Linked DNA regions of Homo sapiens: regions 2 and 3 are each linked to region 1. Evidence: promoter capture Hi-C in human tissues and cell types (Jung and others, 2019). All regions are on one chromosome and are shown on one strand. The core of a region is centred on a gene start or on the middle of the fragment in contact, and the rest is flanking DNA. Distances in the headings are between cores, read along the strand shown. Region 1 holds the start of ASXL1 (ASXL transcriptional regulator 1). Region 2 overlaps TTLL9 (tubulin tyrosine ligase like 9). Region 3 overlaps DNMT3B (DNA methyltransferase 3 beta).

Evidence for each region. Contacts are between HindIII fragments. The study calls those that stand out against the background at their distance.
Region 2: a fragment that was not itself captured here is called in contact with the fragment with the promoter of ASXL1 in region 1 in 2 of the 25 tissues and cell types used here (dorsolateral prefrontal cortex and spleen).
Region 3: a fragment that was not itself captured here is called in contact with the fragment with the promoter of ASXL1 in region 1 in 2 of the 25 tissues and cell types used here (IMR-90 fibroblasts and aorta).

Annotation. Positions count from the first base shown.
Region 1 is chr20:32,356,786-32,360,317 of GRCh38, reverse strand. ASXL1 (ASXL transcriptional regulator 1) reads right to left here and starts at 1,987. Exons shown (of 13, transcript NM_015338.6): 1 at 1,486-1,987. The coding sequence starts at 1,542. RefSeq lists silencers at 1,288-1,447, 1,688-1,737. The HindIII fragment of the contact is 13,760 bases long and covers 1-3,532 here.
Region 2 is chr20:31,943,205-31,946,864 of GRCh38, reverse strand. TTLL9 (tubulin tyrosine ligase like 9) reads right to left here. Exons shown (of 15, transcript NM_001008409.5): 15 at 1,865-3,660. PDRG1 (p53 and DNA damage regulated 1) reads left to right here. Exons shown (of 5, transcript NM_030815.3): 4 at 289-369; 5 at 976-2,528. The coding sequence ends at 1,058. Among named protein-coding and RNA genes, the nearest start is that of PDRG1, 7.0 kb to the left of the region's middle. The HindIII fragment of the contact is 5,609 bases long and covers 1-3,660 here.
Region 3 is chr20:32,775,984-32,779,801 of GRCh38, reverse strand. The region is part of intron 1 of DNMT3B (DNA methyltransferase 3 beta); the gene reads right to left. Among named protein-coding and RNA genes, the nearest start is that of DNMT3B, 16 kb to the right of the region's middle. RefSeq lists enhancers at 1-239, 240-740, 1,247-1,376, 1,242-1,743, 1,779-2,327. The HindIII fragment of the contact is 3,440 bases long and covers 183-3,622 here.

The DNA of each region.
Region 1 (3,532 bases), core at 738-3,237:
CAAAATCTTCAAACTTCACATGCCAGGCCAAAATAAACTGAAGCACAAAACTTCAGCATACAAACAATTGCTATTTTTGTTCCCTGGGCAACAAATGACTAGGGAAGAGGATAGCAAGCACCAATGAAAATTCTGTAGCCCAAATTCCTTCAGTTTTTATAAATCTGTAACTTTTACAGACTTCGAGAAAGAAAAAGGTGTACTTCAGGTTTGTGTCAACCCCCCCAATACAGTCTATTTTTTTTTTTTTTGCACAACACCTTTGAAGCAGAAAACTCACTTCAAAATAAGAGAGAAAATTAAGTCTGAGCTTCACTCATCATTAAAACTGAATTACAACCATTACATATAAACTACAGTGTCAAGAGACACTTATGCTATCCGCACCACAACCTCGCTGTGTGACAGATCTTAGGAACTGACATCTTAGTATAACCTGTTACTACTGGTATCAGCAGATAATTACCCGAATATGTCTCAAAGTGTCTGAGCTTTGTGGGAGTAATCCAAAAGGAAGCTATTTCACCTGCAAGTCCTCTGACGCTCTGAACACAAAATTCACAACCCCCATCGGTTGAACGAGACGGCTTCAAACACTCAAGTTACGCTCTCCCTTGCTAAATCCTCAGTGAACAACGTCTCCCAACAGAGATACTTTGTCTTTGTCCAACATACATTCTTTGCAAAGTGGATTCAGTTCTCCTCAAAATACCAATTTCCAGTCCAGCTTCTGAAGGCAAACAGCCCAGTCTGCGTTTCTCAAAGTGGGGTCCGTGAGCCACTGCGTTTGAATCACCTGGGAAGCTGGTGAAAGCGCAGATTCCCAGGCTCTATCCCAGACCCTGAGGCTCAGCAGGTCTTACGAAGGGCCCTAGGAGTAGCGTTCCTAACCGCCTCCCAGGTGTCGCCCACAGGACACTAAAGTTAGAGAACCGCTGCTCAGGGTTCAAGCTGGGAGTAAGCACTTGCTTCCCTCCACGCACCTGGTTTAGATTGGGAAAGCTCAACATGCCATTGGCGTCCTTGAATGTGGGGTCGCTTTTCCACCCCCGGAGTCAAAGGCACCACCCCATTACCCACCAGGAAGCGAGGGAGGAGCTTCCGACCCTTCCCGGAAACCCAACTCCCCCGGGTGAATGAACGAAGCTGCCCCAGACCCCCAGACGCTGCCAAATAGTGGGGGAGGGGACGCGGGACCCCGCTGCCCAGAGTGGGAGGAGCCGGCCTGCCAGCTCGCCCCTCCGCCGGAATTTAGCTGCGCGGGGCGGGGGGGGCGCGAGGGCGAGCGGAAAAAGGCGCCACATCCCATCCCGGCGGAGCGCTCCCCACCCCTCGCCTTGCGGGGCTGTCCCGTTCTTAAAGGAAGATGGCCCCGCCCCCTCCCGCGGTGGGCAGGGCCTTGCCCCTCCCCCCCCAGTGGGGGGGTGCGCGGCGAGCCCCCCCCACCCCGGGCCCCACGGAGCCCCCCTCGGCTGTCCGCCTCACCAGGCGCGCGGCCTCGGCCCACGTGCGCTCCTTCTTCTTCTTCTGTTTGTCCTTCATCCTTCTCCCCGGCGGCGGCGGCAGCTCCACGCGGGACCTCCGGGCTGGGCGGGCTGGGGCGGTGGCGCGGGGCTGGGGCGGCGGCGGCGGTGGGGGGGGCGCGTGGCAGCGGCGGCGCGCGAGGTCTCGGGTGCGGCCGGGGAGAAGGGGCGGGCACGCGGGGACCGGCTGGCGCGAGAGCGGCGGTGGGGGAGGGGCGGCGGCGGCTCCACGCGCCCGCGCTGCGTCAGTCGCCCACGGCGGCAGCGGCGGCTGCCCCGCGATCGCTAAGGAATGCGGCGGCTCCGCATAACCACGGGGTCAGAGGTCACGGCTCCGGCCTCCGCTTTCCCGCTCTGCTGAGGGACTGAGACAGGACCGACGGCGGGGCGGGAGGGCGAGACGCGGCTTTCCCTTCGGCGCCCGGGTGCGTGCGTGTCTGCCGTGGGTGTGTGTGAGTGTGTGTGAAGAGTGAGGAGGGGGAGTGTGGGGTTTTTTTTTTTTGAACAAAAACAAACCGAAAGGGCGCCTGGGAGTCGTAGTCCCAACGGCCTCTCTGGCCTCCCCCGCTCCGGAAGAATATGGCCGCGTGAAGCGCGTGGACCACACTTCCCGGCGTGCCCGGCGGCCCCCTTCCGCTCTCCCTCTCGCGTCCTCCGCCTAGCACCGACCTCAGCTAGGAACGGGGACGGGTCGCTGTTCGGGGAAGGGGCTGGGTGGAGTCTCGCGAGGTGCGAGAACTGGCTGGGGGCCTGCGGGATTCTGGGAGGCGATGCTGGGAAGGGGCGGTGGCTGGGCTCCCCCGGCCACCCTTAACCCCTTCGGTGCTTTTTGCTTCAGGACCTCCTGGCGGGTGCGGGTGGGGAGTGAGGATGGGGAGCTCGACTCGCAGTTCCCACTTCGTGCTTCTCCTCGCCTAAACGGTTCTTACCTACACTTCTCGTAGGGGACGAGAGGCAGGACTTTCCCTTTTGGTCACCTCTAAATGACTCACTGCCACATAATAATGAGACAAAAAGACCCTCATACCAGTAAAACGGTTATTCCACGGCTGATGGACTTAGACGGTTCTTCATTTCTTCCTGTGCTTTCAGGCCGCTGTGTATTTGCAGAGCCTGCACCAGCAGCCTAGAGCGTTCTTAGGAACTTGGTGATATGTTGACGGGTCGTGTAAAGAACTTGGACTCTGGGGCCATACTGACCAGAATGCACCTGAGGGCGTTTTTAGAGGCAGTACCCTGGAGAGAATTCAGGCCCTGGAGTCCAGCGGACCTAGACTGGAATCTTGGCTGAGTCACTCCCTGGCTGTCCACTCAACCTCTCTGAGCCTCAGTTTTCTGATCTGCATTTGTCTTGTATTTCATGGCATTATTGGAATTAAAATTAACATACAATTCTTGACAGATTGGAAGAGGATGTGAAGGGAGATCTTGACATTATCAGGTCCGTATGATATGGCGCCTGGCATAGAGCAAATGTTTAATAAATGGTAGCTGTTATTACCAGCTGAGAAACAATAGGCAATATACTTAGCCTCTCTGAGCCTTAGTTTTAGAACCTGAAATGAAATTCAGAGCGCCCAGCACATAGGTTTTCTGTAACTATAGGTTCAGTCGTTGTCCAGAAACATTTCTAGAGTCCGTCCGGAGTTGGATTGATGCCAGCTCTTAAAAACTATGAAGGCAGGATCAGTGGCCACATTTAAACGGTTTCCCTGGGTGAGGAAACACACTCTCCACTCCCTAATGTTAACACGTAGCGAGAGCCAGTATTGATAGGAGACCATTATGGTGTAGCCCAAACTCTAACGCCAAGGGGTTCAGTGTTTTCTGCTTCTAATACTGGTCACAGAAAACTTGTGAGTCCGGTAAGCAAAATCCTACAAAGGGAAAAGACTGCAAGTTAGAATAAGACACCTCTTAAAAATCTCTCTAGCTTTACCCTGAGAGAAAGGAGGAACTACTGTCCCTCAAAAAACTGTTTGCCTTGATTTTTTACAAAGGATTTTTAA
Region 2 (3,660 bases), core at 1,097-3,596, 410 kb after region 1:
AGTCCTGATGTTGCCTTCTCCATCCACTGACCACCCCAAGGTACTTTGCATAATGCAGAAAAGGCCAGTGTAATGGGAGTTGGGACTGCTGTGTCCTGGGCTCTCTGAGTGGTCCTGAGCAGGTCATGTCCCTTCTAGACTTTAATCCTTCCTCAGTTGGCCTCTGATGTCCCCTTTTCCTTCCTGAAAGCTACACGCCCTTGCTGGGGAGAGGCTGGCCTCTCCACTACTGGGATCAAGTCTGTCTGGTACAATCTTATCCTCTGCTTGCCCCCCTCATTTTTTCAGATCAAGATCATCTGGATAAAGAAATAGAAAAACTGCGGAAGCAACTTAAAGTGAAGGTCAACCGCCTTTTTGAGGCCCAAGGTATTGGCTTAGCAGGGACTGGAGATAAGAAGGGGAGGGAATCATCAGCATGGACTTTGAAGGGCAGGGATGGGAAGTCCGACCCTCAGAGATGGGCAGTGTCCGGGGCAGCCTGTGAGTGGCCCTGGAGGTGTGCACAGTGGTTGGTTGTAGCTGCCCAGGGACAGAATGGACAGGGGGACTTCTACAGTCCTAGTCCTGTCATAGTTTCTTTTCCAGGTCCCAGGAACCGCTTGGGGTGATCTCACGTTATACATCGGGGCATGGCATGGGGATCAGATAGCTCTGACTGAGGAAACTCAGAAGGCTTCAGTGAGTGAGTGAGGTCAGAGCTGAAATTCTTGATAAATGCAAGCACTCTAGATTGGTCACAGGTCTTGGAAAAACCTGAGGTTCTTTGGGCAGCAGAGTTACGCGTTTGCAGGCTCTTGGTGACACAGGAGCAGTGGTGATGCCTCATCTGGTGCATTGCAGAATTGGAGGCCCATCCCTGCCAGACCTCCAGGCTGAGTTTGGCAGCATTAGTGCAGCGTCAGCCCCTTTCCTGGGCCTGGCTCCAGAGCCAGCAGGAGGCCCGACGTGCTGATGGATCATCTTCTCTCCTAGGCAAACCGGAGCTGAAGGGTTTTAACTTGAACCCCCTCAACCAGGATGAGCTTAAAGCTCTCAAGGTCATCTTGAAAGGATGAGACTCAAGAACCAAGATGGGGGACCAGCAACCCCCCAGGGTCATGGAGGACCCAGGACCCTCCAACCTTGACACCTGTAAGGACAGGATCTGCCCTGTAAGGGGCCAGCCGTCAGGAATCTGGCCATGAAAACCTCTTTGTAGTGCTTGGCTACTCTGTGATGGCAGGAGGGAACCTTCAGCCTGTCTGGCTGCTGGACCTGGACACCAGGGCTCGGTGGACACAAGATCTATTGACGGGCCTTGGTAGCCACCAGTGGGTGTGTGGGGCAGTGGCTGTGGGGGTGTAAGAATGACTGCAACAGGCACTTCCCAACAATGGCCTGCTGTTCACATGGACCCTGAGCAAGGAAGGAGGGAGGGAGGGGCAGAGTGGAGTGTCATTCCAGCATTCCTCTCAGAAGGGAGAGAGGTTTTCAGGCTGGTGCCATGCGATTGGAATAAAGCAGGAGGCTCATGGGTGGTTGCTGAATGAAGAACAGAATCTTGGTGCTTTGTGGCTCACCACAGCCATCTGTGGGGCAGGCACACACACCTCCCGCCAGCTCCAATTTTGCACTTTTTCCCTGCTTGATTCCAAGAGTAGGTGCTGCCTAGCAGCCCTTCGTGGCCACTCTTTACTCAGGAGGGCCTTGCAGAGTCCTGCACCAGGCCTGGGTGAGTGGATGCGCCTCTTACCATATGACACGTGTCAAGATGCCCTTCCGCCCCCTCTGAAAGTGGGGCCCGGCCAGCACTGCTCGTTACTGTCTGCCTTCAGTGGTCTGAGGTCCCAGTATGAACTGCCGTGAAGTCAAAACTCTTATGTGTTCATTAAGGGCTCAATAAATGTTAGCTGAATGAATGAATAGCAGCAACTAGTCTTTATTTGCCTCATCTAGTCCTTCAGTAAGGGCACGCCACTCCATTTAGAATACAACCTATGAACATGGTTCTTGCCTTGAAATAAACCTGTGATTTGACAGGCGGGTGATAACAAATGGCAGCATGGCAGGGGCACACCTCTCCTGGTCCCCCCGCTCCTTGGCTCTGGCTCATAGTTACATAGAAACACAGGCTGTCATGGCCAGTTCTTACGTGTTTTCAAGAGAAGCTAGACATATGGGTTGTGAAGTTGAATCTCCTTTTAAATATTTTTGACTAATGCAGAAACTTTTAAAACATGAGTGTGGGTCACAGGTGTTAGCTCCAGATAGTGCAATACCATACAACTATAATCAAGAATAAGGAACAAGCTCCAAGATACATCAAGTGAGGAAAGCAAGGGGAAGGCTGGTGTCTTATAAGCTAATAATTTTTGTGCAAGCACAGTGTGATTCCCTCAGAACAGCACCTGCAGGGTTGGGGCGCACAGGTGGGAGGGAAGGAGATGTCACCCTATACCCTTTTGTAAACTTTGGATTTTAAACCGTATGAATATATTGCTTATTTTAAAATGTAAATAAAGTAGGGAGTTGCAGAATTCACCTTGCTAGATGTTGTCCAGTGTGACTGCCTGATTCACAATTTCATCACTGGAAAATTGCCCCTTCCTCCCTGGCAGGGTGGGTGCTGGGCCAAAAAAAGCTAATCGCATTCCTTCTGGAAATAGGGAACCTGGAGTCCATGCCTGGACCTGTCTGGGTTGGTGTGCCTCAGGTACAGGGATGAGTGGGAGAAGTCCTCATGCTCTGAAGGCAGAAGGTCTAGAGTAGCCTGGCTTCTGGCTTTCCTAAAGTCGGCTGGTTCACTTCTTGGATTTGCCAGTATTTTCCTTCCAAAAGTCTTCCCTTCGGGCTTGACCTAGGCAGGCAGATTCAACCATTTGCAGCCAGAGAAACTACTCTGAAGCAGGCGGAGTGGTAGAGGGAGTAAGTCCCCCCTGGAACAGTTACCCCAACAGCCCCGAGTCTTGTTGCAACCCCTCTTAAACCAAGAGGAAGCTTAGCAATGTAAGATGTGAAAAGGCAGATTTTTACTCACACTCAACTCCCGAAGCTGTCCTGCCCATGAGCCCAGGGTTTTCCGGTTTCTGGCTCAGCTCCCAATCTCAAACACAAGGCCTAGAGAAGCACTTAAGTCACCCATCTGACTTAGATAAATGCACCTTTGCAGAGACCCTCACTAAGCTCTGCCTCCCTGGTCTGTCTTGTCCATCTGAGAAATGGGGATGCCCTGTCCCACTGGTTTTCAGATGATGGTCAGGGAGCCCCATGGGCTCCCCTGACATGCAAGGAGAAGAGGATGTGTTTAGGGCTCAGTACTTCCCCAGGCCCCCAATAAACACACAATCTAATAACTGCTTGCTGTGTAAGCACAGCTTAAAGACGAGTTCCTTAGCCTCCAAACTCTTGCTCCTGAAGGACCTTTTCAGCACTGACTTGGGAGGTATCCAAGTGTCAAAGCCAGGAGGACTTGGCTGCAGCCAACAGTATCCCCGGAACCAGGCCTGGTGCCCAGTGACTCCAAGTAGGGCCTGTGCTCATTTATTAGATATGATCTCCTGGGGGTAGCAGAACTTGCTGTATTTGTTCTCTTTGGGCCTAACTGCCAAGTCAGTTTGTCAAGGTTAAACCTCCCCCAGTCCCAGTGATTGGCTGTCTCCTGGTGCAAAGATGCCTGGG
Region 3 (3,818 bases), core at 653-3,152, 420 kb before region 1:
CCGCTTCTCTCCTCTCCATGGCAGCACAAGCCCCGCCTCACCCCATCCTCCAGGGCCCATTGGTCTGCTGGCCTGTCGCTCACTCCCCTCCTCCCTCACCAGCTGGGGCTCAGAGTCCCAAGTTCCCAAGGAGGGAAGGATGGAGGCACAGGCAGAAAGCCTGGGGGCAGTTACCAGGAGGGGGACTCCCCAGATCCATTGTAGCCTCACCCTCACCTCTGGGACTTGGCCTCCCCACTGCTGCCCCTCCTGGTCAGGTAAATCAGCTAACACACAGGGCCAGGGCCATACGGATGGGTTGGCAGGCTATAACCTCTGGGCTGGCCCATTGCCTGCAACATTATGGGCACACAGATTTTGTTGGATGCAACAACCTGTATCTCCCCCTAGGGAGACTGGGGAGCTCACCTTCTAGAAAAAGAAAACTGACATCCAGACTAGGTTATTCTCCAAGGTCATATAGCCCATCTAAGAGGTAGGGCCAGGATTAGATAGAGAACGAGTAAAAAACTTCAGGGCATAAATCCCCGCTGAAACCGAGTTTTCCAAGTCACTTGCCTTTGCTTTTTGTTCCACCTTTGGTTGGCAAAAATATTATAAAAGCCTAGGCATAATGAGACCTCCAGGCCCCCATCCCTGAACCACAAACAGCTCCAGGTCACTCACACCACACCCTTGTGTCCTGGAACCGTGCCTGGGAAAAGCTTCCCCAATAAGCTGCTGCCATATGCACCGGGCCTCCCTGCCTCGGGCTCCATCGTGGAGACATACCAGCCCCTGCCAGACAACCCGTGCTAGCCTCGCAGTTTATCTTCTATCTGTCCATCCATCCATCCATCCATCCATCCATCCATCCATCTATCTTAGAGACAGGGTCTCACTTGGTCACCCAGGCTGGAGTGCAGTGGCGTGATCACGGCTCCCTGTAGGCTTCAACTCCCAGGGCTTCAGTGATCCTCCAGCTGGGCCCACAGGTGTGTGCCACCAGGTGTGGCTAATTTTTTGTAGAAACAGAGTCTGGCTATGTTGCCCAGGCTGGCCTCAAACTCCTGGCCTCAAGGGATCCTCCCACCTCAGCATCTCAAACCAGGGTACCTTCTAGAAGCCACACCTTGTATTGCGGGCTCCAAGCTGCACTGGCGCCACTGGCATCGCCCACCAGGGGGCACCGTGAGCTCAGTCTGATGAGCCCAGTGGCGCCCCCAGGCAGAGGTGCAATCTGTGGTGAGAGCTCCCAATTCCAGACCCTGCACCTGCCCATGGCATGGGGCAACTGGACCTCTGCTGCTACTCCCTGTGTGGCCCAGGAGCCACGCAGGCTACAGTACCATGAACTGAGAGCTGCTTGGAAGAACTGTTGGAAGTGGGAGCTGGCTGGAGAAATCTCCACCACTAAGCTAGATGTCCTGAAGCAGGGTTTTCATTTTTTTTTTTTTTGAGACAGAGTCTCCCTCTGTCGCCAGGCTGCAGTGCAGTGGTGCGACCTCCGCCAGGCTGGAATGCAATGGCACGATCTCAGCTCACCGCAACCTCTGCCTCCCAGGTTCAAGCGATTCTCCTGCCTCAGCCTCCTGAGTAGCTGGGATTACAGGCATGCGCCACCACGCCCAGCTGATTTTTGTATTTTTAGTAGAGACAGGTTTCACCATGTTGGCCAGGATGGTCTCGATGTCTTGTCCTCGTGATCTGCCCACCTCAGCCTACCAAAGTGCTGGGATTACAGGCGTGAGCCACCACACCCGGCCTGAAGCGGGATTTTCACAAGACATTTTAACACACACAAGTCATGCCTAGGTGATTAATATGCATGTTAAAGCAGCATTGTTCAGATTATAAACATGTGCGCTGATACATAACACATAGGCTTTCTGTGCTTCACATGATCCAGAGTGTGTATCAGCACCTGTTAAGGAATTTCCCCTACCAAGGACAAGGGACGTGCCTGAATCAGACCAATCAGCTGCTTCTCAGCCCTTTTTCTCCCAAGCCCTGACCCGGAAGAACAGGCTGGCTGACCTATGGCCAGTTCCTATGAGACAAAGCAGTCAGAATCCCAGGAAAGCTGCTGCGGTGTCGGTTCAGAATAATCATTAATTTCAAGCGTTTCACCTCAGGCCAAATCAGTGAACTAAGTAACCTAGTGGGCCTGGCATAGAGTGGGAGGTGGGGCTACCTGGTGTACCTGGTGTCTCCAGGAGGGTCCACCTCCCCAAAGTGCTCTGGGGGGAGGACACACAGGGTTTGTTTGTGGCCAGGAGCTGGTAGCAGACCAGAGGCCTGGAGTGAAGGATGTGACCTCCTTCGCCTTCATCCAGGGCCTGGGGTTCTAATGTGTGCTGGGTTTCGCAGGCAACATTGAACCCCATTCCTCAGACAGGCCCTAACTGGGTCAACAAGAAGCCAGACAGGAGTCTCACCTCCTAGACAGACCCAGGCTGACAATGATTAACCACCCTGGGCCTTCCCCCAGGGCCTCAGCAGTGCCAACTGGCCACCAGCCTACCCAACGTGTGGGCAGCACACCTTCCAAAACCCATATCTCAACATTCAGGAAAAGCCTCAAGCCCCTAGAACAAGACCTGTGGGTACTGGAGAGACAGTCCAGGAAGAAAACCCACAATAAATGGCACTAGCTACCTGGGTGTCCCCCAGGAGCAAGCTGAGCACTTATATATGCTTTCTTCTCGTTGCATAATTCAATGTGATTTCATTTAAAATTCCTTCTGTTTTTATCACGACCCTACGTTTGTAGTGAAATTAACTACCCTCATTGCCTTATAGCCACAGCTGTGTAGACAGCGCACACCAACTTCAGAACCTGCACCCATGACTAAAGATGCCCAGCTCAGTTCCTCCCCCACCCCGCTTCAGTCTACACGCAGGCCAAGACAATCTAGCCTCGAGGCATGTGCTGCTGTGTTCTCTCAGCCTGGAAGCCCTCCCCAACTCCCTACACCTCCTGCTTCCTTTCTCAGACCTCAAAACCCACAGCTCAAAATCCAGGAATAAAAGCTTCTCTCCTAGGCCTTTCTTCCCACATATATAAATATATAAAAATCCCCCCAATAAGGTCATCTTTTTTTCAGTGTTACTATGTGTCAGGCACTGTTTTGGCTTTACTTATCTTAACTCATTTAACCTTTAAATGTGGTAAGTACTGTTATTCCTGTTTTGCAGATGGAGAAACCAAGACAGAGACTGACATACTACCTCCTTGATCAATATATAGGGAAAGTAAATAACATACAAATTTAACTACATGTTCTTAGAATCAGGACAAGAGAAATTAAATTAGCATCAGGTGTGTACCAGTGGATACAAATCTCCCCCACCTCTTTTCTATGTATCTCACTGACTTCATGATTCAAGGCTGGCATTTCCAGATAACATGGCCCCCATCACAAGCCAACTGCTTTATCTAATATGACCTATCCAGAGTGGCAGACATGCTGGATTTAGAACTGCATCATCCCACACTGCCACTGTAACATTAAGTAGCTAACAGTTCCCAGGGCCCTACTTACTGTAGGCTGAACACTGTCTACCACCATGGATTTTTTTTTTTTTTTCTTTTTTTAAGATCAAGTCTCTGTCACCTGGGCTGGAGTGCAGTGGCGCGATCTCGGCTCACTGCAACCTCCACCTCCCGGGTTCAAGCGATTCTCCTGCCTCAGCCTCCCGAGTAGCTGGGATTACAGACTTGCACCACCATGCCTGGCTAATTTTTGTATTTTTAGAAGAGACGTGGTTTCACCATGTTGGCCAGGCTGGTCTCAAACTCCTGACCTCAGGTGATCTACTCGCCTTGGCCTGGGATT